5 separate regions of the Homo sapiens genome follow, and all the other regions are linked to region 5. Evidence: promoter capture Hi-C in human tissues and cell types (Jung and others, 2019). All regions are on one chromosome and are shown on one strand. Each heading gives the region's core, a stretch centred on a gene start or on the middle of the fragment in contact. The rest is flanking DNA. Distances are from core to core; before and after follow the strand shown. Region 1 overlaps NF2 (NF2, moesin-ezrin-radixin like (MERLIN) tumor suppressor). Region 2 overlaps MORC2 (MORC family CW-type zinc finger 2). Region 3 holds the start of ASCC2 (activating signal cointegrator 1 complex subunit 2). Region 4 holds the start of NIPSNAP1 (nipsnap homolog 1). Region 5 holds the start of SF3A1 (splicing factor 3a subunit 1).

Evidence for each region. The method cuts DNA at HindIII sites, captures the fragments that hold promoters and counts their contacts. A contact is called where the count stands out against the background at its distance.
Region 1: a fragment that was not itself captured here is called in contact with the fragment with the promoter of SF3A1 in region 5 in 2 of the 25 tissues and cell types used here (dorsolateral prefrontal cortex and spleen).
Region 2: a contact is called between a fragment that was not itself captured here and the fragment with the promoter of SF3A1 in region 5, in 1 of the 25 tissues and cell types used here (small bowel).
Region 3: the fragment with the promoter of ASCC2 here is called in contact with the fragment with the promoter of SF3A1 in region 5 in 1 of the 25 tissues and cell types used here (hippocampus).
Region 4: the fragment with the promoter of NIPSNAP1 here is called in contact with the fragment with the promoter of SF3A1 in region 5 in 5 of the 25 tissues and cell types used here (IMR-90 fibroblasts, adrenal gland, bladder and 2 more).

The regions. Positions count from the first base shown.
Region 1 is chr22:29,621,279-29,626,808 of GRCh38, forward strand. All of the region lies in intron 1 of NF2 (NF2, moesin-ezrin-radixin like (MERLIN) tumor suppressor), which reads left to right. Among named protein-coding and RNA genes, the nearest start is that of NF2, 20 kb to the left of the region's middle. The HindIII fragment of the contact is 8,231 bases long and covers 1-5,530 here.
Region 2 is chr22:30,951,160-30,957,181 of GRCh38, forward strand. It overlaps MORC2 (MORC family CW-type zinc finger 2), which reads right to left. Exons shown (of 26, transcript NM_001303256.3): 3 at 5,604-5,638. Among named protein-coding and RNA genes, the nearest start is that of MORC2, 15 kb to the right of the region's middle. The HindIII fragment of the contact is 6,988 bases long and covers 1-5,962 here.
Region 3 is chr22:29,837,024-29,843,096 of GRCh38, forward strand. It overlaps ASCC2 (activating signal cointegrator 1 complex subunit 2), which reads right to left and starts at 1,251. Exons shown (of 20, transcript NM_032204.5): 1 at 1,155-1,251. RefSeq lists an enhancer at 1,524-1,583. The HindIII fragment of the contact is 14,310 bases long and covers 1-6,073 here.
Region 4 is chr22:29,579,648-29,585,723 of GRCh38, forward strand. It overlaps NIPSNAP1 (nipsnap homolog 1), which reads right to left and starts at 1,466. Exons shown (of 10, transcript NM_003634.4): 1 at 1,338-1,466. The coding sequence starts at 1,435. RefSeq lists an enhancer at 627-1,239 and a silencer at 1,223-1,272. The HindIII fragment of the contact is 21,243 bases long and covers 1-6,076 here.
Region 5 is chr22:30,353,700-30,359,607 of GRCh38, forward strand. SF3A1 (splicing factor 3a subunit 1) reads right to left here and starts at 3,195. Exons shown (of 16, transcript NM_005877.6): 1 at 3,031-3,195. The coding sequence starts at 3,093. CCDC157 (coiled-coil domain containing 157) reads left to right here and starts at 3,308. Exons shown (of 12, transcript NM_001017437.5): 1 at 3,308-3,433. RefSeq lists a silencer at 2,892-3,141 and an enhancer at 4,077-4,676. The HindIII fragment of the contact is 21,616 bases long and covers 1-5,908 here.

The DNA.
Region 1 (5,530 bases), core at 1,013-3,512, 730 kb before region 5:
AGCTTTGCAACCTTAAAGCTCCTTAACCCCCTCACATGCCTCTGTTCCCTAACTGTAAAATGGTGAATGTAATTAATTCTTCCTGCATAGTGTTACAAGAATTAAATTTGAGTAATTACTGGTAAAGTACGTAGAATAGTACCTAACACAAGATAAGTGCTATATATAATGGTTGTTACCTAAAGAAATAACAGCCTGGGCAACATGGCGAAACCCTATCTCTACAAAAAATACAAAAATTAGCCGGTTGTGGTGGTGTGCACCTGTGGTCCTAGCATCTCGGGAGGCTGAGGTGGGAGGATCACATGAGCCTGGGAGGTCGAGGTTGCCATAAGCTTCCTGATTGCACCACTGCACTCCAGCCTGGGTGACAGAGTGAGACCTTGTCTCAAAAAATAAATAAATAAAATAAATTAAAAAAATAAAAAGGAAATAAGTTCAGTGCCTGTCGTTAGCTTGCTCCCTTTCTCAGCCTCTCCTCCACTTCCTCACGCACCCTCTTGCTCTGAGCCTATTATCCTGGTCCCTCCTTCACACTGCCACATCTTTGCATAGGCTGTTCTCTTTGCCTGGAATGCCATTCTCATTTGTTGCTTGGCAGAACTGAACTCATTCTCCTTCTAGGCTCTGCTCAAGGGTTTCCTCTTCTTTGTGTCCAAAGTCACCACATAGCTTCTAAGTGATGGGACTGAGATTTGAAGCCAGGTCATCTGTCTTTCAGGCCAGCCCTCTTTCCACTACCCTATGCTACCCAAATAGGAAGCGTAAAAGAGAAGTAGGAGAGAAAAAGTTAGAAACCTGGAGAGAACTTAGGTATTTGGTAAACAGGAAAAAGAAAGTGGAAAGAAGAGATCATTTGAAGGACTTCCTCAACTTAACAACTATTTGCCTATGGCATTATTTTATTGCATTTGGTGTATGATACTATCTCAAAAGCATTTTGTAAACTTGCCAGTGGCTTACATTTTTGCCGGATGAATGACATGACTAACGATCCGTGCTACATTACCTCAGTGTCTAGTTTGTCATTTTGAATCAAGTGGACATTTTCTGTAAGTGAATCATTTTCACTTGCTCATGATATAATGAGAATTCCTTACCTTTGGCTTAAAATGAGGCTTATGTTATAACAGTTAAGCATTGTCTAGTTGCATATTTAACATAGTCAGAATGCTCCTGCCTGTATTCAGCCTGGTGTCTTATAATATTTGGTATGCCCACCTAGATAGCAATTGGTAACATCTTTATTCTGAGACTCTTTCATGTATGGATTTTGAAAAGTTAGTTAACTGTTCAGACGACATTGTTTCTTTGACTTTTACAATCCGCTTCCCTCTCACTGACAGTTCAGTTTTGGAAGACCCTGTATTTTTTTTTTTTTTTTTTTTTTTTTTTGAGACAGAGACTCGCTCTGTCGCCCAGGCTGGAGTGCAGTGGCGTGATCTCTGCTCACTGCAACCTCCACCTCCCGGGTTCAAGCAATTCTCTTGCCTCAGCCTCCTGAGTAGCTGGGATTATGGGTGTGCACCACCACACATGGCTAATTTTTGTATTTTTAGTAGAGACGAAGTTTCACCATGTTGGCCAGGACGGTCTCGATCTCCTGACCTTGTGATCAGCCTGCCTCGGCCTCCCAAAGTGCTGGGATTACAGGCGTGAACCACCGTGCCCGGCCTTTTTTTTTTTTTTTTTTTTTTCGAGATGGGGTCTCACTCAGACTGGAGTGCAGTGGTGCTATCACAGCTCACTACAGACTTGACCTGCTGGGCTCAAGTGATTCTCCTGCCTAAGCCTCCCAAGTAGCTGGGACTACAGGCACATGCCACCAATACCTGGCTAATTTTTTTGAAGAAATGGGATCCCGCTATGTTGCCTAGGCTGGTCTGGAACTTCTGGGCTCAAGCGATCCTTCCGCCTCAGCCTCTCAAAGTGCTGGGATTACAGGCATGAGCCAACATGCCCAGCTAGAGATGTGTGTGAATTGGTAGCTTCAAGCTAGATATTGGAGGCTCATGAAGCCCAGGTTAAAGAGGCTTGTATTCATCAGATGCGATGAAGAGCTTTGAAGTTTTTACTAGAAGTGTGATTTAAAGTGGTTGGCATGCAAAATGATTTGGAACGTTTGGGGTTTGGGGTAGGGAGAGAGAGGTTGGAAGTAGGAAACAATTAGAAGGCAAACGCTTTGGGCAAGGTATCACATTGAAACCTGAACAGCAGTGGGACTTGCTGGGGGTTGGGACAAAACTAGGCAGATGTAAGCATCTAGTGAATCTAGAGATTAGGGTGTTCTGTGACCAAGAATGAGCAGAAGACCTGCTAGGCTCAAGATTCAGGAGATTCTCAGGTCCAAAGCCAGTCCTCAGTCTCCGAAGTCAGTCAGGCAGAAGGGAAGTTGGATCAAGCTGGCCAGAGTTGAGCTCAGGAAGTCAGTGCACTTTCTCTTGTCTGGTTCCTGCATCGTTTTACTTGTGTAAAATCATCAAGATCCCTAAACCGATGTCTGAACACCAGGCTTCTAGGCAGAGCTCCACCGTGTGACCTTGGGCGCATCACTTATTTCCCCCAGGCCTCAGTTCTTCTGAAAGATGAGGGGAAGAACTCACATTCAAAGGCCCTCAGCTTTAGCGTCTTATTTTAGGTGATCTGGGCAGAAGAGTCTCACTGTGCTCCTCTCCCTTTCATATTTCCTGCTTTGGTAGGAAGTCATCTCAAGACTTGAGTGTATAGGCATGAGGAAGTCTGCTAGAGGACAGGAAGAATATTGCTTAAAGAATAAGAGCTACAGCCCTGATGGAAGGGGTAAATTGGCCTGGGAAAAGCCCTGCCTCTGCTACCTGCTTCCCAAGTGACCTTGAACTTAACTCTTTAAACCTCAGTTGCTGCATCTATAAAATGAGAATAATAGTATCTTTTTTATAGGGTTTTTTTTGTTTTGTTTGTTTGTTTTTAGACGGAATCTCCCTCTGTTGCCCAGGCTGGAGTGCAGTGGCACGATCTCGGCTCACTGCAACCTTTGCCTCCCGGGTTCAAGCGATTCTCGTGCCTCAGCCTCCTGAGTAGCTGGGATTATAGGAGTGCACCACCACGCCTAGCTAATTTTTGTATTTTTAGTAGAGATGGGGTTTTGCCATGTTGGCTAGGCTGGCCTGGAACTCCTAACCTCAAGTGATTCTCCTGCCTTGACCTCCCTAAGTGCTAGGATTACAGGTGTGAGCCAACGTGCCTGGCCAGGGTTGTTTTGAGACATGAATGAGGTGGACCTTTACAGGCACTTGGTTCAGGGCCTGACCCGTAGTGAGCATTTGATAAATGTTACCTATCTATGTTGTCATGGGCTGGGAGTGTGGGAACAGGAAGTGTCTCATGCCAGAAGCACTGTGAATTTTCTCCTTTAATCATTGCCTTCATTTTCTTTGAACCTTATTCAGATTGTCCATGCCTTTGTAATTGTAGACCCTCTAAACTATAATTAGTCCAAATAAAATGGACTCACCTTATGCCATGTTCTTGTTGAAGGGTCCTCTTTCTTTCTTTCTTTCTTTCTTTCTTTCTTTCTTTCTTTCTTTCTTTCTTTCTTTCTTTCTTTCTTTCTCTTTCTCTCCTCTTTCTGTCTCTCTCTTCTTTCTCTCTCTCTCTCTCTCTCTTTCTTTCTTTCTTTCTTTCTTTTTCTTTCTTTCTCTTTTCTTGCTCTATTGCCAGGCTGGAGTGCAGTGGTGAGATCTCGGCTCACTGCAACCTCCGCCTCTGCCTCCCAGGTTTAAGCGATTCTCCTTTCTCAGCCTTCCGAGAAGCTGGGACTACAGGCGTGCGCCACTAATTTTTGTATTTTTAGGAGAGACGGGGTTTCACCATGTTGGCCAGGATGGTCTCGATCTCTTGACCTCGTGATCCACGCTCCTCGGCCTCCCAAAGTGTTGGGATTACAGGCACGAGCCATTGCACCCGGCCAGATCTTCTTTTTTGTAACATGCTAAGTAATACAATCTCTATTTAGCTTGATGTCCACGGTGATAGCAGGATTCTTTTCGGATTTCTGCCATAGTTAATTATTCTGCATTCTTTTGTCCCTAGTGTGTCATATTGAAATTTTTCTTTTTTCTTTGTTTTTGATGACTTCTCCAGTTATTCATGCTAGTTTTGCATTCCTGTCCAAGAACATTTTTGCTGCTTGTTTATTTTTAATTTCATAAACTAAAGCGTTTGAGGTTTTAAAAACCCAGAATTGAGTTTTCTCAGAGCTGCTAATCTTTCTAGCCAGCTGGTGACGAGGCTTCTCAATTCTTGTTACAGGATGATGTGTTCTGTCCTCCTGTCTGTGCTTTGTCTAATTTAGATTCTAAATCCACATGTTTAGGACATTTTTAGCGTGTCAAAATTTATTACCAAAGTAGTGCTGACTTCAGGGAAAAATTTTTAATGGAATCTTTAGTCACTCATGTTGACACAAGGTGCTTGTCCTAGTGCAGGAATCTGTGTGGCACCACTAGGTGGTGCCAGACTGCATCATTTTTAAAGACAGCCTTTTCTCTTCCAACTCTTTTGCCACTGTTCTCTTTTTTGCTTCTTTGCCAAATTTGGACCGAGCTTTGAAAACTTCATATAAACTTTCTCTTAGTGAGTTATGTTGCTTATAGCTTTTCCCTCCACCTTGCCTGTTTTAGTCTTCTTGTTTCAATAGTTTTGATAGTTTGACATTCAGATAAAACTTAAAACTGAAGCCCAAAGTAATTACTAAATGTATCTCGACTGATCTGTGGTTTTAAATTCACCAACAGTGCATCTCCCTACTTGCTTAATCATATTGATTTTGAGATTAAATCAGTCTCATAAATATGTTAGTCTTCAGCCCACGGTAGTTCTCATCCATCTGCAGACTTTTTTTTTTTTTTTTTTTGAGATGGAGTCTAACTCTGTCACCAGGCTGGAGTACAGTGGCGCCATCTCAGCTCATGGCAATCTCTGCCTCCTGGGTTCAAGCGATTCTCTTGCCTCAGCCTCCCGAGTAGCTGGGACTACAGGTGCTTGCTACCACGCCCAGCTAATTTTTGTATTTTTAGTAGAGACAGGGTTTCACCATGTTGGCCAGGATGGTCTCGATCTCTTGATCTCGTGATCCACCCGCTTCGGTCTCCCAAAGTGCTGGGATTACATGTGCGAGCCACCACGCCCAGCCCCATCTGCAGATATTTTTACCAGTCCTATCCACTCATGCCTGTACCTTCTAATGTTATTAAAGTCAGTTTTATTATCATTGATGACCATGAGACTTAATCAAAAGGTCAAGCTAGAAACAGAGAATATTCAAAATTTCTTTCCAGGCAAACATCTGGGTTCAATAGAAGCTAGTTCACATGAATGGATCATGCTCTAGCTCTGTTGTGCTGGAGCTTTTTTGAAGGAATGCATTGTTACATACTAACCACAATTTTTACATTGTCCAGGGCAGGAGTAACCAGTTGGTTGATACTTAGTCAGGGGTTGTGTTTCGTAATCTGCTAGTTGTACTTGATGTTTAGGCATTTGAAATTTA
Region 2 (6,022 bases), core at 1,219-3,718, 600 kb after region 5:
TTGACAATAAGATGCACAGCAGCTGTGGTGGGGTTTCCTGGCCAACAGAAAAGGAACACAACAAACTACGGCTGCCATTCTAGTGAAAAGAACGTCTTCTCTCAGCAGTTGTCTTCTGCAGCAGAAAGTGGTTAACTGAAAGTGGTCTGGGTCCAAGCATGTCATGGTCAATGGAGAAGCGATTCCCAAATATGGAAACAGGCTATACTAGCTTCCAAGGTGCCTTTTGACCCAATGATGAGGACTAGGTGAGCAAAAGAGAAACCAGCCTTGGAATCAAGGAAGTTGGTAGACACAAAGAAGAGAAGGATGTAAGGCAGAGGTATAGGGAGGAGACCCACACAAGCCAAGCAAGCCAACTTCCCATATAGATGCTATTCAGTCTACTGACTGGCACAGGGATAAAGGTAGCATTTCTAAGAGGAAAGAGGTCTGTGTAAGGTATTACAAGGGCAAGCCCAAGGCTGCTCTGCAGCCTGGTCCCTGATGATTTCGGAATCTCCCCCAAGCTTCAGTTAACCAATTTTGTACAACTATCTAAGCTGAGAAATCTGTTTTAAATGCTCTTTGTCCTTTCTTCAGGCTAAAAATTCAAGTGAGTAGGGACTGCCCTCTGTCAAATAGACTTATTAATGTAAATTAAAATGCTATTTTTTTTTTTTTTGAAATGGAGTCTCACTCTGTCGCCCAGGCTGGAGTGCAACGGCGTGATCTCGGCTCACTGCAACCTCTGCCTCCCAGGTTCAAGCGATTCTCCTGCCTCAGCCTCCAGAGTAGCTTCTGTAAGGCTATAAACCACAGAGATTTTCAAGTACCACTCAGTGTTCAGGAAGCTGAACATTAATTACAAGTGCTTCTTGAAAGTACAAGGGTGAGGATCTTCCTGGAAGTACTATTGGTTAGATAAAATCTCTCCTGGTGGCAGTGCCTCTAATCAGAGTCTGGGGAATCCAAATGAGACGTGGCAATCAAGAATAAGTACAATAAAAGTCCAAAAAGGCTTCAAAATTTCCATCTGGAGGAAGCCAAGTGTCATAAGGAGACTCAAACTGGGTCAGGTACAGAGAATGGTAAAAGCAGCATTCTAAACCTAGCCAAGAGCCATTTGCTGTACACTACAGCCGCAAAATGTGCATGAAGACTCTGCTTTGGGATCTAGAAATTGATTCAAGCCAAGCACCTCTGAAAAGTCCCCAAGGACTACTGGCATTCTTTGGACACTGCCTAAGAAGTTACTTTCTAGGCTCTTGTGTTAGGATAGAACTCTTAGGCTGCTTTAGCACACAATCATCACTTAACAGTGGGGCTGGTATCCTTTTCTGGCTCAAGGACTTCATTTCAAAGCTTTTTCGTGTAGTTTAAAGGGTAAGAGATGACACTGGGGGGATCCTCCTGGCTACATAGTAACTGACAGCCTATAAATGGCTAGTAGTGTCTAGGTCCATGGCCACATGCAATACTGCCTCAGGGCCAAGAAAGACTAAGACAGCATTGACTTCTTCAACTTTGTAAACAGACAGTGTGGTCTCTTCACCTTGTTCAAATGCTTATGCCAATCACTTGTTTATTTAATGACTACTTAGTGATCAGCTCTTCTGTGCCTGGTTATGATGAGGACAAGAGCAGTGAACAGTACATATGCGATCACTGTCTTCATGGAGCTTACATCTAATGGATTCTACTGCCTGCAGCAGATAAGCTAGGAAGTAAAGGACAGGAGGGTTTAAGCTGAAGGAAGCTTAGAAAAGTATTGGCTAGAGCAAAATGTAGTATGGGTAAGAATTATCCAAAGAGCTTGTGAAAATAGATTCTGGGCTCCCCCTGGATAGTCTGGGTACGTCTGAGGTGGGGCATTCGCATTTCTAACAAGTTCCAAGATGATATTGACAACATCTGTGGATGGACCACCTTTTGAGAAGCACTAAACTAGAGCAAGCAAGAACTCGAAGGCGTCCCTGCTCAAAACTATCTCCTCATATATTCCACCATAGAGATAGATTCCTATCACCTGATATTTAATCAGTCAACTGAGTGATATCTGAAGCCTCCAAAGATAAAGGAAGGGGAATTCTGGATAAAGAAGAGTCTAAGCAGCTGGGGGTTGTATGTTCCCCGCCTCCCATCACACATCTTGAAAGTAAGAGAAGGCAAAGCCGAACTGCCTGCTTTGCAGCTGTGCTTCATATCCTGGGAACAGCTCTGTAAGACTGTCAAAGCCAATCTGAAAGTCTGCACATCTCCCAGAATGGCCAAGTCTGGCTTCTGCAAGCCAGACATTCTTCATCTAACTCCCACTGGGAAGAATAAAGAAAGAAAGCAGGAAAAGACAAGAGATGTCAAATGGAGCTATACATCCAAAAGTCAAAGGTGATAAAATAATGGTGTCCCCAGGAGAGGCTGCAATAAAATGACATCCAAGTTCTTCATCATACTCTGCAATCTGTTTGAGCAGTATTAATTGCAGTTTCATTTGCTCCAATTTTCCATGTGTTAATCATTGCCCTGGCATCACGAAAAGGATCTTTCTTCCAAGGAGGTGGCACTACCTACCCCAGAAGGTCAAGAAAGTCAACAAAAACAGTCTGCTTATGACAGGCATATTATGGTCTATAATAATAATCCAACTAATAATAATATGCTTTGGGTAAATGAACACCTCTACACTTTGAGAGGCTGGCTCCTTTTTTGCCCTTTTTAGGTTTAAAAATGGTCTTTAAATGTGACTTTGTGGTGACTTCAAACTACATCTGATGTTTGGAAAGATTTCCAAGTCCAGTTATCAATCAGTTTCAGAAGTGGAGATAAGAAAATACTTTCCCCCATGAACTAACAACAAGAACTTTATAGTATTAAGATTATTACTGGCCAAGCGCATCGGCTCAGCCTGTAAGCCCAGCACTTTGGGGGGCCAAGGCAGTCAGATTACTTGAGCTCAGGAGTTTGAGACCAGCCTGGGCAACATGGTGAAAAAATATATATACAAAAATTAACCAGGTATGGTGGTGTGTGCCTGTAGTCTCAGCTGCTCGGGAGGCTGAGGTAGGAGGATCACTTGAGCCCGAGAGGTGGAGGTTGCAGTGAGCCTAGATAGCACACTGCATTCCAGCCTGGGTGAAAAAAAAAGATTCCACGGACTGATTTCTCCTGTTGAATGTGTTAACAAGGCCCTGTGGTAGAAAAGTGTAGGGTTAAAGATCCCTTAGCCAAGAATCCCAATCTCCTGGTACTTGAAGTAAATCAAGTCTTTTTCCAAAATGCTATGGTGCTTAGTGCTTCTATCACACCATTTAATCCTTAACTGTCTTGACTGTTCCCTCAAGATCTAGTTATTGTTCTCTAATTATCCATAGTGCATTAATTGTCTCTCCAATTAAAGACTAAGTTCTTAAAGCAAAGACCCCCATCTCCTCCTCTCTGGACATTTCCCAAAGCATAACAGGAGTTGTACTGAGCACAGAATAAAGACACACTGGGTCCTTTTTCATTTAAATTGAAATCCAACTTCATTCTGAGTGTCAGGAACTAAACTTCCTTGCTGAAATTTACCCACCAAATGTAGTAGGAGACAGCAGAGATGATCTTTTTTAAAAAACGTCTTCCAAGTAGACTTGACCATTACGATTTGTACCTTCAACATCACTTGGAGAAGAGGCCCATTCTCTGCTTTAGCATCTGTGCATTGATTAAATAAGCCCTATTTTTCCAGCGGTAGCTGTTACCATTCCTGAGAAAGCACACTCAGATGTAAGATACATGCTTTGGCTTGGAAAGGCACCTCCATCTGGCCTGAGCATTTTTTTTTTTTTTTTTTTTTTTGAGACGGAGCTTCGCTCTTGTTGCCCAGGCTGGAGTGCAATGGTGCGATCTTGGCTCATGGCAACTTCCACCTCCTGGGTTTAAGCGATTCTCCTGCTTCAGCCTCCCGAGTAGCTGGGATTAGAGGCATGCACCACCACACCCGGCTAATTTTGTATTTTTAGTAGAGACAGGGTTTCTCCATGTTGGTCAGGCTGGTCTCAAACACCCGACCTAAGGTGGTCCGCCTGCCTCGGCTTCCCAAAGTGTTGGGATTACAGGTGTGAGCCACCACGCCCAGCCTTGGCCTGAGCATTTAGTAATCATCTTCTAACATTCTTTTCCTGTGTGCCCCTATTTCCTGTTACTTTCTTCTAGAGAGAAAAGAAGCCTTATTTTTACCACTTTGGCAGAGCCTTTTGAACAAAAGGCTTTCAGAATTGAAGCAGTACAGCTGACTTTTAGCTGCTCTGAGGATTTTCTTTGCTCCAAAGTATAGCAGACATGAGAAATTCATCAAATCTGGGGCAGATTCTTCATAATTATATGACATTAGTGGTTCTGAGAATTACTACTTAGTTGTGTGCTTGTTCCCATTCATCAAAAGGGTCCATGAAGAGGGGTTATTTCATTCCCATGTAAACATACAGACTTCTCAGAACCTAGTTCATGCTACTCAAAATATCACCTCACACATTTCAGAGGATTTCAGAAAAGTCTGTCAGAAAAAAACACATCACACTAGTCGAATTGTATTTAAAAGCTGTCTTCCGGCCAGGTGTGGTGGCTCACGCCTGTAATCCCAGCACTTTGGGAGGCCGAGGCAGGCAGATCACCTGAGGTCATGAGTTTGAGACCAGCCTGGCCGACGTGGTGAAACCCCGTCGCTACTAAAAATACAAAAAATTAGCCGGGTGTGGTGGTGGGCGCCTGTAATCCCAGCTACTTGGGAGTCTGAGGCAGAATTGCTTGAACCTGGGAGATGGAGGTTGCAGTGAGGCAAGATCGTGCCACTGCACTCCAGCCTGGGTGACAAGGTAAGACTCCATCTCAAAAAAAAAAAAAAAAAAAAGCTGTCTTCCTCCATTCTGCTTTCAAATTTTTAGTATTCAAATGACTAAAAAAGGTGCTAGTACAAATACCAGGCAGAAAGCAAACTATTAAAATTAATGAGTTAATTAATTAAAAGGCCAATGACTGTTGCACTCACTCTAGGAAAAGGAGAAGATCTTACTACAAAACAGCAGAGCCAAATAAGCAAAACGAAATAGGATGTTGACAGGTGTAAATTCCAAGCCAAGCAGCCTTCCTTCCTGACACCTCTGAGAACAACTCAGCAAACCTCAGAGCCAATCCAGTTACTGCTATTTTCCGCAACCGATACCAGCAATTCTCCAAGTTGAGACTAGTGCTCACCAAGAGTTCAAAACAAAGTGGCCTCCAACAAGATCTCTCCTTGGCTGCAGGTACCACAAACCTCGTTCACCTATTAACGCCTACCAGTAAAATAACTTGGTCATTTCACTCTCTACTGTTCCACTCCATCACTTCCATAACTCTACTAGTAGCTATTTACATAGATTTGGATACCTTGTGTTAGTTTCTTGAAACCAATATTCTTGGTTTCTATGCCTGACCAGAGCTGACCATACCTGACTACGGCTGCCCCTTTTCTACCTATGACCTGGAATAATCATGCCATCTTCCCAGGCTCCCGAATCCAGTTATTTCCCACTCAATTCTTCTTAGGCACAGTAATAAATGCATTAAGATGAACTAGACATTAGAAGGACTAAAGCCTGACTTACCTGCATAAATATCTATTCTGGTGGCATCAGCATCTCTGCAAAGTGAAAAGAAAAGAATCATGTGAATTAATATGAAATATCAACCATCAAAATGCATAGTGATTTGAGTAGAATGCAGAGTATTTTGAGTCTGTTTTCAGGAAGCCATACAGAAATTCTATAGACATTTAGAATTTTTTTTACTTTTATACTTGACAACACAATTTTCTTTATATATCTGTAAAACATTTCTGAAGCCCCAAATTATTGAAGATGATCACATGACATGGGGCCTGGATATTTTTTTTAAATCCTGATTTTGTGGTAAAAACATCTATAGGATAAGCAAGAATATTTCCCTTTATACCCTAAGAAATGATTCAAATATGTTTTTCTCACTCATTTGATTGCAATCATAAAAAGATGTTCCAATAACTTGT
Region 3 (6,073 bases), core at 1-2,500, 520 kb before region 5:
AGCTATGTAGATAAGGCTCATGAAGCTGTGGCAGCATTTAAAAGAGAGACCTGGCTTGAGGAAGAAGTGATGTCAAGGAAGACCTGAGTTTTTGTCTAAAGCACGGGTACAAATTAAGTAGGCAGGGCTGGGCGCGATGGCTCACGCCTGTAATCCCAGCGCTTTGGGAGGCCAAGGCGGGCGGATCACGAGGCCAGGAGATCGAGACCATCCTGGCTAGCAAGGTGAAACCCCGTCTCTACCGAAAAAAAAAAAAAAAATTAGCAGGGCGTGGTGGTGCATGCCTGTAATCCTAGCTACTCAGGAGGCTGAGGCAGGAGAATCGCTTGAACCCGGGAGGCGGAGGTTGCAGTGGGACGAGATCACGCCACTGCACTCCAGCCTGGGCGACAGAGCAAGACCCCGTCTTGGGGGGAAAAAATAAATTAACTGGACAATCTGAACTTTGAGCTCCAAAAGGACAAACAATAATCATGACTATGTCTGTGCCCACCACTGTATTCCCCTGCCAGGCAGGACAGCAAAAGCCAAAAGCTAAGAAAGGGAGGGGGAGCTCCCTACAAGCACCCAATTGCAATATGGCCTGGGAGCATCCCCGGGGCTACTGCTCCCTCAGCCTCTTTGTCATCATTCCTCTAGTCTCTCAATTAAATACTACTCTCCTCAGAGACCTTCTGATGGCTCTGCCTATAGTATCCACTCTCCCAGTTACTGTCATAGCTTTAATGACCTTGTGCATTTGCTTGTCGTTGACCATCTCCTCCCACTAGACTGTAAGCTCCATGAGGGCAGAAGCCTTGTCTGTCTTGCTTTCTTTGTATCCCCAATGTCTAGATCTGTGTCTGGCACATAGGAAGCACTCCACAAATATTTGCTGAACGAATGAATGAACCCTGAGGAAACTGAAGCCCCGGGTGTGAGGACGTGGGGGGATCGTGGCTGGTCCAACGCCACTCTGGGGCCGAACTTCGAACCCGTGGCTCCTGACCCTGGCGGCCAAGTCTCGAGAGGCGGCTCACAACCCCTCAGGTAGCGTAAGCGTGGGCCCCGCAATGGAGGCCAGAGGATGGGAGAGCCAAGGCTGCCCAAGGCATAGCCGCGGCTCCTCCGGGGTCCCTTGCCCTGCATCTGGCAGGGACCAGCCACGCACTCACCTCGGCGGCTCCACCACCGGCTCTGTGCCGCCGCCGCCGCCGCCGCCGCCGACCACGGTGACAGCTCCCTGAGCGCCCGCACTTCCGGGGTCAAACTGCGATTCCGCAGGAGCAGACAGGAAGTCTCGGCCTGGCCCCGCCCCCAGAGCCGAGCAAACTACCGCCGGGAAGCCGGACCCGGGTTGCGCCTCTCTTCTTAAGACTCCGCCCCACACTCGGCGTCTGTAGCCACGCCCCCTTCCCCTCCTATCTCCCTTCCTGCTTAAGCAGAGAATAGGTCAGCTGAGGGCGGGCTGTGTGATTACACCTCTCGGGAAATCCAAGTATGGCACCTGAGAGGACGTCTCGGAATCCCAGGCTTCCACCTTCTGCCCGACCTCCTTAGTCACCGTTTTACATATTTAATCCAGAAGAGAAATTTTAACAAGTCAAAAGCACGAACATAATGTTAAGCAGATGTACAAGTACAGACTGCGATTTCATTTACGGGAAATTCTAGAACAGACAGAACTCATGAGTAGTGATGGTGTTAAAATTGGTGGTTTCCTCTGGGGCTGTGGGCTGGGAGGGGCCACAAGTGAGGCTGGGGTCACCCCCTGTCTTCATCTCGGTGGTAGCCATGTAGATGTGTTCACTTTGGAAAATTCATCAAATTGTACGCTTAAGATTTGTGCATTTTTCTGTATGTATGCAATACAGTTTTGTTCTGTTTTGTTTAAGGAAGTTACAAGTATAGCTATCCTAAGAGAAGGATGCAATTTTTTCTACAGAATGTCTCAGGTAATGTAGGTTTAGTGGTTCCTAAGCCTGACTATGGATCAGAATCATCACAGAAAACTTGTTAAGAACACACATTCCTGGCTTCATCTCAGTGCCTGGTACACAGTAAGAATTCAAAACCAACCACCATCATTATTGGGGTGTTATAGAAGCCCCCGAATGGAGAACACAACCCCACCCTGGGATTGTGAAATATTTCCCAGGACACTCCTGCCAACCCCTGCTATCTGCACTAGGGCTACAAGGAATGCTTAGTTCAGTGCCTGTCTTCAAGGGGCTTACAGGATAGGAAGTGCAAGAAAACCAATAGCAATGAGTCAGTGTGATGAATGCAGGGTGCTAAGGAAATAGGAGAGATGGGCTGTAAACCAGAAATGAGATGAGAGGGGCTGGATATTATATTAGTTTTGTATTGCTGCATAACATATTACCACAAACTTATAACAACACACTGCTTGCCACTTATAACAAACACATTTATTTATTTATTTATTTTGAGACAGAGTCTCACTCTGTCACCAGGCTGGAGTGCAGTGGTGTGATCTTGGCTCACTGTAACCTCTGCCTCCCGGAGGTTACAGTGGGTTCAAGCGATTCTCCTGCCTCAGCCTCCCAAGTAGGCAGGACTACAGGCATGAGCCACCAGGCCCAGCTAATTTTTGTATTTTTAGTAGAGACGGAGTTTCACCATGTTGGCCAGGATGGTCTCGATCTCTTGACGTCGTGATCCGCCTGCCTCAGCCTTCCAAAGTGCTGGGGTTACAGGCGTGAGCCACCACACCTGGCCAACAAACATATTTATTATCTCACATTTTCTGTGGGCCAGGAATCTGAGGATGGCATAGCTGGCTCCTCTGCATCAGGGTCACCCACAAGACTGCAATCAAGATATCGGCCAGGGCTGGAGTCTCATTTAAAGGCTCAACTCAAAAAGGATCTGCTTCCCATGTCTAGTGGCTAAATTCAGTTCCTTAATGGTTGTTGGACTAAGGGTCTCAGTTCCTAGCTGGATTTTGGCTAAAGGCTTGTCACGTAGGCTTCTCCAGTGTAGCAGCCTGCTTCATCAAAGCATGCAAGCCTAAAAGTTAATAGGGAAGCCAAGAGTGGTGGCACATGCTTATGGTTCCAGCAGGTTGGGAGGCTGAAGCAGGAGGATTGTTTGCGCCTAGGAGTTCAAATTGAGCCTGAGCAACATAGCAAGACCCAGTCTCTAAAAATTAAAAATAAATAAATAAATAAAAGAAGGCAATAGGGGCCGGGCACCGTGGCTCATGCCTATAATCCCAACACTTCGGGGGGCTAAGGTGGGAAGATTGCTTGAGCCCAGAAGTCTGAGGCCATCTTAGGCAACATAGCGAGACTTCGTCTCTACAAAAAAAAATTTAAAATTAGCCAGGCATGCTGGTGCATGCCTGTAGTCCCAGCTACTTAGGAGGTCGAGGCAGGAGAATTGCTTGAGCCCAGGAGTTCGAGGCTGCAGTTAGCTGTGATCACACCACTGCACTCCAGCCTGCACAACAGAGCAAGACCCTGTCTCAAACAAACAAAAGGAGGCAATAGGAGATTCTACTAAGAAGAGAGAAATTACAACCTCATGTAACCTAATCAAGAAAGTGACATCAGTTTTGCCATGTTCTATTTGTTAGTAGCAAGTCACAGGATTTGCCCACAGGGGATTACACAAGGGCATGAATACCAAAAGATGTGAATCAATGGAGGCCATTCTAGAGTCTGCCTGCCACAGATACTTGGAGGATGCATATCAACCCCAGGTCTGCAGCAGAGGAAGTAGAGGTGCAGAGAGATAAAGACAGTTGTGATAATAATGACCACATTTGTCAAACCCTTGCTTCATCCCAGGCACTGGAATAAGCATTTTACACATATTATCTCTTTGACTTTTTTTTTTTTTTAAATGAGATGGAGTCTCACTCTGTTACCCAGGCTGGAGTGCAGTGGCACGATCTTGGTTCACTGCAACCTCCGCCTCCCAGGTTCAAGCCATCCTCCTGCCTCAGCCTCCGTAGTAGCTGGGACTACAGGCATGCACTGGGCTAATTTTTGTATTTTTAGTAGAGATGGGGTTTTGCCATGTTGGGCAGGCTGGTCTCAAACTCCTGACCTCAGGTGATCTGCCCGTCTTGATCTCTCAAAGTGCTGGGATTACAGGTGTGAGCCACTGAGCCAGGTGCTCTTTGACTTTTTGTAACAATGATAAGAGGTAGACGCTATTATGACCCCATTTTAAAGAGAGGTTTAAAGACTAGACCAGAGTCACAGAGCTGGTAAGTGGGTGGAGTGGGGATTTGAATTCAGCCCTGTTTAGCCCCAAGCTCCAAGAGATCTCAAGGGCCACAAGCTGCGTCAGAACAGTGAATGTTTCCCTTTGTTGCTGTTATTATTATTATTATTATTATTGAGATAGGGTCTCCCTCTGTCACCCAGGCTGGAGTGCAGTGGTGTGATCATGGCTCATTTCAGCCTCTGCCTCCTGGGCTCAAACAATTCTCTTGCCTCAGTCTCCTGAGTAGGGGTGACTATAGGCATGCACCACCATGCCTAGCTAATTTTTAATTTTTTTGTAGAGATGGTGTCTCACTATGTTGCCCAGGCTGGTCTTGAACTCTTGGGCTCAAACGATCCTCCCACCTCAGCCTCCCAAAGTGCTGGGATTACAGGTATGAGCCACCATGCCAGCCTGTTGCTGTCATTTTTAGGAAAACTGATCTTCTACTGACATGGAAGGGACAGAAAAAGGTGCCAGAAACTGTGTGTTTTTGTTTTATTTTGTTTTTTCTTCTCTGTCATCCACACACACTGGGCACAAGGAAAATGCAATCTGTATCTTGGTGATTAGTTGGGAGAAAATCACATACAGCAGCCTTTGGTCCAGGAAAAACTTAAAATAGTAGATCTGGAGAAAATATATGCACTGGTTCCATCTTTCCCTATGGGTACAAAGATGTTCATATCACTAAGGTTTTGGAACTAAATAACATGACTGTAAGAAGACAAAACATCCAATAAGTCACCTAACTTCTCCAAACATATCTGTTTTCTCATCTGTTAAACAAGGTAGTTAATATCCACCTCATCATCATTAGAAGGCTTAAGGCTGGGTGTGGTGACTCATGCCTGTAATCCCAGCACTTTGAGAGGCTGAGGTGGGAGGATTGCTTGAGGCCAAGAGTTCGAGACCAACCCAGGCAACATAATGAGACTTAGTCTCTCAAAAAATAAAAATAAAAAAACTAGCTGGGTGTGGTGGCACACACCTGTAGTCCCAGCTACTCTGGAGGCTGAGGTGGGAGGATAGTTTGAGCCTGGGAGATGGAGTCTGCAGTAAGCTGTGGTTGTGCCACGGCACTTCAGTCTCAAAACAAAACAAAACAAAACAGAAGGCTTAAATGAGATAATATAGACAATGCCAAGAACACAGTAGGTGCTCAAAAAATGTTAGTGAAAAGGAAGGAAGAAAGGAGACTCCCTATCAGCTGGAGCGTTAACTTTTACATTTCTTTCATCTTTCTCCCTTGCCTAAAGAGCTTAATGAGGAATGTTGGTTTACAAAGGACACATTCTTGTCTGAGCTAATATGTGTCCAACTGAAATTAAATTTAAAAGCTGGTTTAACAGGAGAGGACTCAAATCATGCATAAGTCATTTGCAAACATGCAAATACAGAGTAATTTCTTGGCCTGGCTTCTCCTCTAGATTAAAAGAAAAACAACTAATTTAAGAACAATAGTTTGGGTTGGCAAAAGAGAGGAGTGTCCATGGTTCTTAAAACCAACAAAGTGTAGGGGTAACTAGGGAGAAAACTGTCAATATTCGGTGCCACGAAATAGACATTGAAATATCTAGGTCTGAGTCTTGCCTGGCCCAGACACTCTGAGTCACCTCAGATGAATCAGTGTTCCCTTCTTTTGCACATCAGTCCTCCAGCAAGCATGTGTTTGCAGAGCACTCATTGTTGAGATTAGCTGTTGTTTGGCATCCAGTGTTTATTTCCTCTGTTTTCCTACCAATAGCAACTTGATCACTCCTTAGGGAACTGTCACTCCCATTTCAATATGTGTGGAGTGGGGTTGACCCCTTACCCAGAGTTTAAGTGTCCAAAATTGTATTAGTCATCTGGG
Region 4 (6,076 bases), core at 216-2,715, 780 kb before region 5:
GAACTGCTGACCTCAAGTGATCTGCCTGCCTCGGCCTCCCAAAGTGCTGGGATTACAGGCATGAGCCACCATACCCGACCAACCACAGCATCTTTAATCCTCAACAACCCTATGAGATACATCCTGATTACTCCCATTTTACAGATGAGGAACCCGAGGCTTAAAGAGTCCTGAGGTCACCCCACCTACAAAGTCTGAGTTAGATCTGTTAGTGCCAGGCAAACTCTAGGCTTTTCCCACGGTGTCAGCTTTATCCCTAATTATTGGGCAGTCTAGGTGGGGCGCTTATGCCACTCCTCTTTCCCAGCTGTCCAAAAGCCCCACTGCTCTGTGCTGTAACATCTCATGGCAGGCACTATCAGAACTTTGCAGCTTCATTCCTGGGCTGCAGGGCAGGAGGGATGGTTGCTTCCTTTTCACAGGTTGGGGGAGGGGGAACAGGTGGCCTCACTTCTTTGGTAAATATTCCTTGACCATACACAGTCCTGAGCCCTCTGAGGGTGGGAGGCTGGGGAAACAGAGAAAAATGAGATCATGGTCTAGTGAGAGAGACAGACAAGCACCAAGTCATAACTGTGCAGGGTCATATATGCAGAGATGGGGGAAGTACAGGGCTGTGGGGACCAAGGAGTGAGGGGCTGCCCAGGGCCAGTCAGGGAGGCCAAGCCCTAGCTCAGCCCAGAGCAGGGCCCAAACAAAAGCCCAGGCTGAGAGCACATGGCCCAGCCAGACTCCCACTCCCAGGAGGCCACCAGTTGGGTGCAAAGTGCATGGCGCATTGGCAGGCCTGGGTCCCAGACCTGGTGCTGCCACGGCACAGCAGGGAGGGTGACCTTGGACAACTCCCATTCCCTCTCAGGTCCGTTTCCCCACCTGTACAGTTCGAGGTGGAGGAACAAAGGGTCTGTGCAGCCATGGCCCCTGGGGATCCCCCACTGCTCCCCTGCCATCATCTCTTTCCCACAGAACTTCCCGACGGAGGAGCTGACTACCAGAAGCCCCCAGTGGGTGTTAAATCACAAGCTACGCCTGGGAATGGGCCACTCCTCCTGTCTTCTGCCCTCTCCCACTCTCCAGGGCCCAGTACCTGCCCTTCTCACCATCTTTCATCAGGTCCCCATCACAGCCCGGTCCCAACCAGGACAAAGACCCTACCCATCCCTTTCTCACCTCCCCCATTCTTTGCCCAGACCCCTCCCTAGGCCTTGATCCTGCCCCGCCTCTAACCCCCAGATTCCAAGCGAGGAGTCTCAGCCCCTCCCCCACGACCCAGTCCCTGGCCCCCGCGCCTGCACCCCACCCCGCGCGCGTCTATCCCTGCCTGGCCGGGCTCTCACCGCGCCGCAGCTGCAGACGCAACGTCCCCAGCGCGAGGCCCCGGGCCCCCCAGCAGCCGCCGCGCCGTCACAGAGATGCTGCACAGCCGCGGAGCCATGTTGGAGCCGCAAAGGTTGCAGGAAGGCCCCGCCCCCAAGCCCTGGTGGCGGAGGCGGGGCGCGAATAAACTCCACCCCTCCGGCTCGCCCGCCCCCTCACTCACCCGGTCAGGTGGGCGTTTCCTGTGGGCGTCTCCAACTCCGCAGGTGCTGGACGGAAGTCAGGGTTCTAATCCTCTGCGCGCTCTGCGACCTTGGCAAGCCCTTTGCCCACTCTGGGCCTCAGGATCCACCTCGGTAAAATGGGAGCGTGGAACAATAATACCAAGGGTTCTTTTTTTTTTTTTTTTTTTTTTTGAGACGGAGTCTCGCTCTGTCGCCCAGGCTGGAGCGCAGTGGCGCGATCTCGGCCCACTGCAAGCTCCGCCTCCTGGGTTCACGCCATTCTCCTGCCTCAGCCTCCCGAGTAGCTGGAACTACAGGCGTCTGCCACCACGCCCAGCTAATTTTTTGTATTTTTAGTAGAAACGGGGTTTCACCGTGTTAGCCAGGATGGTCTCGATCTCCTGACCTCGTGATCTGCCTGCCTCGTGCTCCCAAAGTGCTGGGATTACAGGCGTGAGCCACCATGCCCAGCCTACCAAGGGTTCTTAACAAGGCTGTCCGGGATGTGCAGCAGAGGGTCAGTGTAACCACCCCATGGGTTCATTTTGCCCGTTTCCCAGACAGCGGATTTATCAAGACAGAGGAATTGCAATAAGAGTTTAATTCATGCAGAGCCGGCTGAATGGGAGACCGGAGTTTTATTATTACTCAAATCAGTCTCCCTGAAAATTCGGAGACTGGGTTTTATTAAGGATAATTTGGTGGGTAGGGGCCAGAGAGTGGAGAGTGCTGATTGGTCAGGTCGGAGATGCAATCATAGGGAGTGGAAGCCGTCCTCTTGTGCTGAGTGGATCTCTGGGTGGGGGCCACAAAACCGGATGATCCGGTTTCTTAATCTGTGTATCGCCAGCGGATCCATTGAGTGCAGGATCGGAAAAATATCTTGAGCACCAATCTTAGGTTTTACAGTAGTGATGTTATCCCTAGGAGCAACTGGGGAGGTTTAGAATCTGTGGCCACTACCTGCATGACTCCTAAACCGTAATTTCTAATCTCGTGGCTAATTTGTTAGTCTTACAAAAGCAGTCTGGTCCCCAGGCAAGAAAGGGGTTTATTTTGGGAGAGGGCTGTTATCTTTGTTTCAAAGTTGAACTATAAATTTGCTGCCGGGCATGGTGGCTCATGCCTGTAATCCCAGCATTTTGGGAGGCAAAGGTGGATCAGAAGTTTAGGTCAAGAGTTCAAGACCAGCCTGGCCAACAGGGTGAAACCCCGTCTCTACTAAAAATACAAAAAAATTAGCCAGGCATGGTGGCGGGCACCTGTAATCCCAGTTACTCGGGAGGCTGAGGCAGGAGAATCTCTTGAACCCTGGAGGCAGAGGTTGCAGTGAGCCGAGATCGCGCCACTGCACTCCAGCCTGGGCAACAAGAGCGAAACTCCGTCTCAAAAAACAAACAAAAAGACTGTAAGTTTGGCCTATGCCCAGGAATGAATATGGACAGTTTGGGGGTTAGAAGCAAAATGGAGTCGGTTAGGTCAGATCACTTTCACTGTCATAATTTTCTCACTGTTAAAATTTCTGCAAAGGGGTTGCATCAGTAAGCCCCCTGAAATTGTATACAACGTTACGTGCTCCTCTGTGGTGCATTCTCTGGGGAAAGGCATTCACATGCCAGGTTTATCACCATCAAAGAAACAAACTTCCTTACAAGTGAAGACAGGGGCAAGGCTGTCAGCTGCAGACACTTTATCTCCACCATCTCCTTTCCCCTTTTCATCCCCCTTTGACTTCTCTGCCTGAAAATCCTGGGGCCTCTTTCTGCCCTGCCCAGCTCTTTTGCCCGCCCTCTAAACTAATCCCTTCTCAGCCCACAATCCCCCAGATCACAGACATTGGCAGGGGTGGAGAGCCTGCAGACCCCACAGGGGGCAGGGGCTCTATCCACTTCCAAAGGGGCAGGGACAGCTCCCCAAAAGAATGTCCACCCACTGACTAGTGGTTGCCTCCTGTTATGCTTGGCATGGGGGGAGTGGAGGCCAGGCCATGATTGCACCACTGCGCTCCAGCCTGGGCAACAGAGCAAGACCCAGTCTCTATAAAAAAATAATAATAATTTTAAGATTAGGACCACGTGTGGTGGCTCATGCCTGTAATCCCAGCACTTTGGGAGGCCAAGGCAGGAGGATCTATGAAAATTCAAAAAATTAGCTGAGCATGGTAGCACACACCTGTAGTCCCAGCTACTCAGGAGGCTGAGGCAGGAAAATCACTTGAGGTAGGAGGTCCAGGCTGTAGTGAGTTATGATTTTTTAATTAAATAAATAAATCAGGCTGGGTGCGGTGGCTCATGCCAGTAAATCCAGCACTTTGGGAAGCCAAGGTGGGTGGATCACCTGAGGTCAGGAGTTCGAGACCAGCCTGGCCAACATGGTGAAACCCCATCTCTACTAAAAATACAAAAATTAGGCCGGGCGCAGTGGCTCATGCCTGTAATCCCAGCAGTTTGGGAGGCCAAGGCAGGGGAATCACCTGAGGTCAGGGGTTCGAGACCAGCCTGATCAATATGATGAAACCCCATCTCTACTAAAAATATAAAAATTAGCCGGATGTGGTGGCATGTGCCTGCAATCCCAGCTACTCAGGAGGCTGAGGCAGGAGAATCACTTGAACCCAGGAGGCAGAGATTTTAGTGAGCCAAGATCGCGCCATTGCACTCCAGCCTGGGAAACAAGAGCGAAACTCCGTCTCAACAAAACAAACAAATAAATAAAATAAAAAATAAAAATACAAAAATTAGCCAGGCATGGCATGGTGACGCACACCTGTAACCCCAGCTACTCCGGAGACTGAGTCAGGAACATGGCTTAAACCCAGGAGGCAGAGGTTGCAGTGAGCCAAGATCGCGCCACTGCACTCCAGCCTGGGTGATAGAGATTCCATCTCGAAAAAAAAAAAAAAATCAAAGTCAGTATGATCTTAGCAGAGTCCCCAGTCAAAGCCACTCAGGAAAAACCCAGGTGGGTTGATGGAAGCACAGCAAATGGTGTCATGTGGTGGGAGCAGCTCTTTCCTTAGGAACCCAGCGTGGCAGACTGACTGTGGAGTGGTGGAAGTGACCACCTCCGCCAACCTGACTTTGGACCTGAGCTTCAAAGGATGAGTAGGAGTCTGCCAGGAGAGAGGGAAGGACCAGCGGAAACTCAGAGGAAGCAATGTGTACTCAGTATGTGAAGGGGCTGCCAGAGGCCAGGCGCGGTGGCTCACGCCTGTAATCCCAGCACTTTGGGAGGCCGAGGCAGGTGGATCAATTAAGGCCAAGAGTTTGAGACCAGTCTGGCCAACATGGCAAAACCCGATCTCTATTAAAAATACAAAAAGTTAGCCAGTCATGGTAGCCACACCTGTGGTCCCAGCTACTCTGGAGGCTGAAGTATGAGAATGGCTTGATCCCAGGAGGCAGAGGTTGCAGTGAGTGGAGATTGTGCCACTGCACTCCAGCCTGGGTGACAGCAATACTCTGTCTCAAAAAAAAAAAAAAAAAAAAAAAAATGAGGGGTGTGTGTTGAGGGCTCTTCCAGGAAGAAAGCACAGTTGAATATAATGAATGGGTGGAGATTATGTGATGGCAGCCTCTCATTCAGTACAGGAATAATTTTGTTTCTCTTTTTTTTTTTTTTTTTTTTGAGACAGGGTCTCACTCTGTCGCCCAGGCTGGAGTGCAATGGCGTGATCTCAGCTCACTGCAACCTCCACCTCCTAGGCTCAAGCGATTATCCTGCTTTAGCCTCCCGCATAGCTGGGATTACAGGCTTGCATTACCACATCCAGCTAATTTTTGTATTTTTAGTAGAGATGGGATTTCACCACATTGGCCAGGCCGGTCTTGAACTCCTGACCTCAAATGATCCACCCACCTCAGCCTCCCAAAGTGCTGGAATTACAAGTGTGAGCCACCGCACCTGGCTGGAATAATTTTCTAACAATGGAATGGGCTGCCTTGGTGGCATGTCATTGAATTGTGTCAACAGAGGCCGAGTAGCAGCACGTTGGCTATGTGGTAGAGGGCATTTGGCAGTCAGGCCACAGCAAGCTGGACCCAAGGACAGGGAGGAGCCGGCCTTGGTGGTTTAGGGTGAGAGGCTCTCACCAAAGCCTTGGCATTCCTGGCTGCCTCACACTGCCTCCCAGGTGAGGAGAATGAGGGAGGACTGACCTGCAGCCTCCTCCTGTGGGTCTTAGCATTTCTAAGAAGGGTTTTCCATCTCTGTCCAGCCAAATAGGGCAGGAGGGTGAAAAAAGGTGGTGCTGGGAGCATGCTTCCACCCCTGCCTGGGAGAGATGGGATATGGGCATCCCTCCCCAACCCACATGAACCACAGTGTGGCCGCTGACTAGAAGGGCAACCTCAAGGCCCCTACTCCCACCTCAGCTAGGGCAACCACATATCCCAGTTTATCCTGGACTTTCTCAGTTTTAGCACTGAAAGTCCTCCATCCCAGAAAACCCCTCAGTCCTGGACAAGCCAGAACCTTTGGTCACCCCAATTACGGCCCTAGTTCTCTCCCCAGGAGATATACCCACTCCATCCCAG
Region 5 (5,908 bases), core at 1,945-4,444:
GGCTAGGAATTTCTTTTTCGGGGAGCTCGGCTCTTAAGACACGAGTCTGCCGACGCTCCCGGATGAATAAAAAACCTCTTCCTTCTTTAATCCGGTGTCTGAGGAGTTTTGTCTGCGACTCGTCCTGCTACATTACCAAATGCCCAGGTGATTCAGATGCAGGGACTCCGACTACATTCTGAGAAACCATGTTCCAGAATCCAGGCCATGTCTGTAACCCTGCACCCAGCGATGGGCTTGGCATGGAATTTTTAATGATTGTTTGCTGAATAAAGAAATGGGAAACTATCTGCTGACAAATTCTTCTGCCCTGAATGCCCTCTCTGCCTCTACTCCACTGTCTTAACCAACATTCAATGCTCAAGTGTTTTGTGAAATTCCACTGGAAGGCTCAGCACTAACGATCCCATAAGTACCAATATTTTTTCACCAGCAGCTTCTTCCCCTTAGTAAACAAAGGGTCAAGTCTCTTATCTTAGAGAAACGAAGTTTCTCCTCTGCCTTCATGTTCTTTTCTGCCGCTGCCTTCTCCCACACCTTCCTCTGGCAGCTAAACATCCTGAGTTCTCTTCAGTCTTGCTGGTCCCACTTCCCTGCCTCCCATCTGGTCCCCATTCATTTTAAGTGCTCTTGACAAAGTCAAAAACAACTGCCCACAGCCATTATCTGGGCGTGAATGGTGACCACTCCTTCACAAAACTCTCAACTCCTAGGCCCCATTCTTGCCTGTCTTCCCATCTTGCTCACCATTCCATTCAAGTTTCCTTCCTGACCCGTTTCACCTCCTGCACTGTGAAGCTGGAGATCCCCACTCCCACCGCCCAATTCTGTTCTTGGTTCTCTTCTCAGTTTTTGGTGTCCTCCACTTCCCCTTCCGCCTCTAGACTAAACAATCTGGCCCAAACTGATGTCCCAGAACACTCTTGTGTACTAAACAGCTTCAGGTGCAGCTAACTACTGGGCACTTTCATCTCTAACCTCTTTCCTCAGGAATAGCTACCCAGTCACCCATGCCAGAAAGTTGGGGGCTCCTCTCTCTTCCTCAGCTTCCACACTCGATGATAATAACGTTTATCAAGTTGGGCACAATGGCTTGCACCTATAATCCCGGTGACTCAGGAGGCTGAGGTAGGAAGATTGCTTGAGCCCAAGAATTCAAGGCTGCAGTAAGCTATGACTGCACCACTGCATTCCAGCCTGGGTGACAGAACGACACCCGGTCTCTTAAAAAAAACTTTTATCAAGCTATGAGTAGATCCCAGGTATTTTTCCCAAGCACTTTAAATATATTAACTCTTATAACCTTTAGAAGAAGCCTATAAGATTAAGTACTCTTTTTTTTTTTGAGACAGTCTCTTGCTGTCGCCCAGGCTGGAGTGCAGCGGCATGATCTTGGCTCATTGCAACTTCTGCTTCCCAGGTTCAAGCAATTCTCTCCCGAATAGTGGGGATTACAAACATGCACCACCACACCTGGCTAATTTTTTATTTTTAGTAGAGACAGTTTTGCTATGTTGGCCAGGCTGGTCTCAAACTCCTGACCTCAAGTGATCTGTCTGCCTCGGCCTCCCAAACTGCTGGAATTACAGGCGTGAGCCACTGGACCCGGCCAAGAACTCTTAATATCTCCACATTACAGATGACAAAACTGAGAGATGGAGAGCTTAATGTCCAACTGGCAGAACCAGGATTCTAACACACCACTCTGGCTGAAGAGCCTGCCTACCCCCTCTGCCCTAATCTCGGCCAGGCCTTCAGCCTCTTTGGAATAGCGTGACTGGCCTCCCCTCATAGTGATTCTCCACACGTCTGCCTACCTGAATTTCTGAAACACAAATGTCACTATTTGGCTTAAAACACTCCCTTTTCTTCCCACTGTCTACAAGGAAAAGTTCAAATCCTAAGTAAGAATCGCATCTCCTGCCACTACGCTCCTAAGTCTATGCTTCAACACTTGTTCATTTACTCTTGATCAGAGACACCGTTTGATTCACCTCGGTGTCTTTGCGCATATTATCTGGCTATTACCTTATTTTCCCCCAATGCCTGGGAAAATGCCAGGGACACACGGGCACTTAAATATTTGTGGAAAAGGCATGGCTTCTTCAGTCATGTTCCCCCCCCCCGCCCCCCTTATTCTGAACCCAAAGCAATGATCAGCGTATGTGTTCAATAAATATTTGCTGGATGAATAAAGGATGCTATTTCCCTTCCCTAGTCACCTACCTGGCAAACTCCTATTCCTTCTTCTAAAAGAAATTTACCTCTCACTCTTGTGGGCTTCCCTACCTTAATATCCCTTCTAGCCCAGCAAACAATGTTCATTAGATTTGTACCTGAAACTTCTATCACAGGGCATATCACACCATACTACAATGGTTTGTGCACATTCGAGATTGGAGAGCTTTATTAAGGGCGGGCTGGCACTGTATCATCGATGGCCATTGGGACAACAAACATTTGGTGAGCATTCTCATATGTCTGTCTTCTCGTTAGCCTGTGAGCTCCCTAGGCAGGGACCATGCCCCATTCATTCCGGTAATGTGGGAGCCTGGCACGGTGTCTGGCTTGGGGCAGACACCGAAATAGATGCTGAGAATTAACATCCAAAGATGTACCGTGCAGGCTGGGAAATTAGCCATTACTGGGGAAAGGCTGTGGCCGGCGGCCCCAACTGCTACATAAGATCAGAGGATGGGCTGGATCAGCGCCTCTCGCACTTATAAATCAATCACCTTAGGATTTTGTTCAAATGTAGATTCCTATTTAAAAGATCTACGGCGGAGACTCCACATTTCTAAGAAGCTCCCGGCTCGTGCCGACGGGGCTGCTCCGCGGACCACTTAGAGAATCCCGTTCAGGGTGGCTCATTTCGCTACCAGAACACCACCATAGCGCGGGAAGCGCGCAGCCTCTTGGGACTTGCAGTCCCTCCAAGCCCTTCATAGCGGCCGGCCGCTTATTCCTGTGCGAGTAAGGAGCGCCCAGGCCAACCCTCCGGCTGCAGGCTGAGGGGCGGGGGAGAGGTACCTGTTTGGGCTCCGTGGGCACGGGCGGCGGCGGGGGCACCGCCTGCACGGGTCCGGCCGGCATGACTGCGACGCTCAGGGCTGCCAGTCCGCCTCGGTGTCGGTGAGCGGTGCCGCCTCAAGACAGCCTCCCCGCTCGGTCAGTACGACGAGCTCGCAAGATGGCGGCGGCCGAGCGAGTTGCGGCCGCGAAGGTACGACTGGCGCACTTCCGGGACCGTCCCCTCGCCGTGACGCGCTTCCCGCCCCTCCCCGCGGGCACCGCGGCGTCCGACGCCGTTGCCAAGGCAGCGGCCTGAGCGCCCGGCTAGGGCTTTTCGGGGATCCCGGTGGCCGCAGGCGCACCGGGGGCAGTTCCGGGAGCCGACCAGACACGAAGGCTGAAGCCGCGACGCCGAAGACAGGTGAGATGTTGTACGTCACCCGCCGGACCCCCGCCGCACTCACCTCGCGGCTCCTTTACTCCACAGGCCAGTACCTCGCTCCCTTCGACCCCGCCTTCCAAGAGCCCAGCTCCCTCCCATTGGTCTCTCATTTAGGAGAGCCCCTGTCCCCTCAGGCTCACCGCCTAAGAGCCCCACTTCCCTACTCCCTTAGTCCCCCCTTTCATTTCAGACCCACATCCTCCAAGCCCCGCTTCCAAATCCTACGCCCTTAATTCGCTTTTCCCACGGAACCTGCCTTTTCTTGCTTCCATCCCCTGCCTTCCGTAGTCCCGCCCTCAAGCCCCACTGGGGGCCTCCCTCTCAAATCAAGGCTGCTGCTTTCTTTGTCTTTCTTTTTTCTTTTTTTCTGAGACAAGGTCTTGCTCTGTCACCCAGGCTGGAGTGCAGTGGCGCGATCTTGACTCTCTGCAACCTCCGCCTCCCGAGTTCAAGCGATTCTCCTGCCTCAGCCTCCCGAGTGGCTGGGACTACAGGCGCCCACCACACCCGGCTAATTTTTTTTTTTTTTTTTTTGGCATTTTTAGTAGAGACGGGGTTTCACCATGCTGGCCAGGCTGGTCTGGAACTCCTGACCTCAAATGATCCGCCCGCCTCGGCTTCCCAAAGTGTTAGGGTTACAGGCGTGAGCCACCGCGCCCGGCCAGTTTTTAAATTTTTTTTTTTGTAGGGACATGGGAGGACGTCTCCCTATGTTGCCCAGGCTGGTCTCAAACTCCTGGGGTCAAGCGATCCTCCCGCCTTGGCCTCCCAAAGTGCTGGGATTACACGCATGAGCCATCACGCAGGGCTGCTGCTTTAGGCTTCACCCCTCACTCTCACAGATGCAGCCCTGCAAGCTATGCGGCTCGCTCCCCAGAGGCCTACCTCGAATCCCGCCGGCTTCTCTCCCTCTCCTGCGATTCCCCCCTCTCTCCTTCCTCCTCTCCTCAACTCTGGAAAGCGGGGAGCTGGCTCCGAACCTGTTCCTGGACTTCAGTTTCCTCACCTGTGAAATGAGGGAGTGATAGGAAAGGTTGCTCTCTCAAGTCTTCCCCCTCCCCCCACACACATCGTAGCTGTGTGTCATGGTTGTTATTAATGTAGAATAATGATAGCTGGGATGTATTGGTCATTTACTATGAGCCGGATACTGTGCCCAACACTTCATGTGTTACGTCATTTATTCCTTATAGCAACCTATTTACAAATGAGGACAGTGAAGTTTGGAGTTGGTAGAGTGGGAATGCAAGTTCAAGCCAGTCTTATTCCTCTACTAGTGCAGTTAGTTATTTTGCCCTCAGTCCCTTCAGTATCCCCAGGGATCCAGGCAATTAACAATCTCATGTTTGAGACTGACATCTGCCACATAGCTGGTTTTAGAGTTTCCCGTGTTTTCATGGTGGTGGCTTTGAATCTCACCAGGCACCCTGGCTGGGAAGTAGGCATCATCTTTACCGAGTAGGGTTAGGGTACTAGTTCTGAGAGAGAGAAGGCGCTTGAATGTTGAACGGAAATGCAGGAAAGGCTCCTGCTCTTCTCTGGGAGTCAAAAGTCCACCTTGAGCCCCAGGAAATTGAGGAGAGGCAGAGATAGCTGCTGCTCCTCCCTAAGGGCTCAATTAGTGCTGTCACCTATGTGGTCATGGGTACAGTGCCGGGCTGGCAGCTTCAGACTGAGGGTTCCACTCAAGACCCAGGAATTGCAGAAAGAGCTCACGTCAAGTGCTTCTTCACTTGACACACACATAAAGTACTTCTTAAACTATGCTTGTATCTGCATGACTTCAATTTTCAGAAGAAACAACATAAGGTCATCTTGGATTTTCCTGACACTTGGGCATTTGCTGCTGCTTATCTGATCCAGGATCTACTGGGAGTTGATATCCAGGATGGCCCCATGTGGCAGCTATAGTTATTTGAAGGTGAACAGATCAGTGTTTCCTGGTGCCTTCACAAGCAAGCTTATGAATTCCAGATGCTTTGCCACCTGAATACACTTTCTCCCAGGTTGGGGGCTTCTTGATTTCTTTATTTCTTTCATGCCCATTCCAGGAAGGAAACCCAGAATACTTCCGTGTGTTATTTTGCCTTTGTTTCTGCCTCCCTCCTTGGAGACATAAAATCTCTTGGGCAGCAGTAGTTCATTGGCAGTTGCCAAGACAACAGGAGTGTAGGATGTGGGCATGTGTGTTGTGAGTATCATGGGGCAGACACGTATCCCTTGGGTGATATCCCATGGGTGAAACTGGCACACACAAGCTTACCCCTTGCGGAGACCCTCAGATATCACTGGTAGTTCCTGGAGGACAGGGCTCCTTGTGCCCTGCTGTGTTCCTGGTCTTGACGTAGTGCCTGGTATGGAACAGATACTCAGTCCTCATTTGCTGAATGCACACACAGCATCCAACCCTCTGCACCGTCCAATACAGTAGCTACCAGCCAACACAGATTTTGA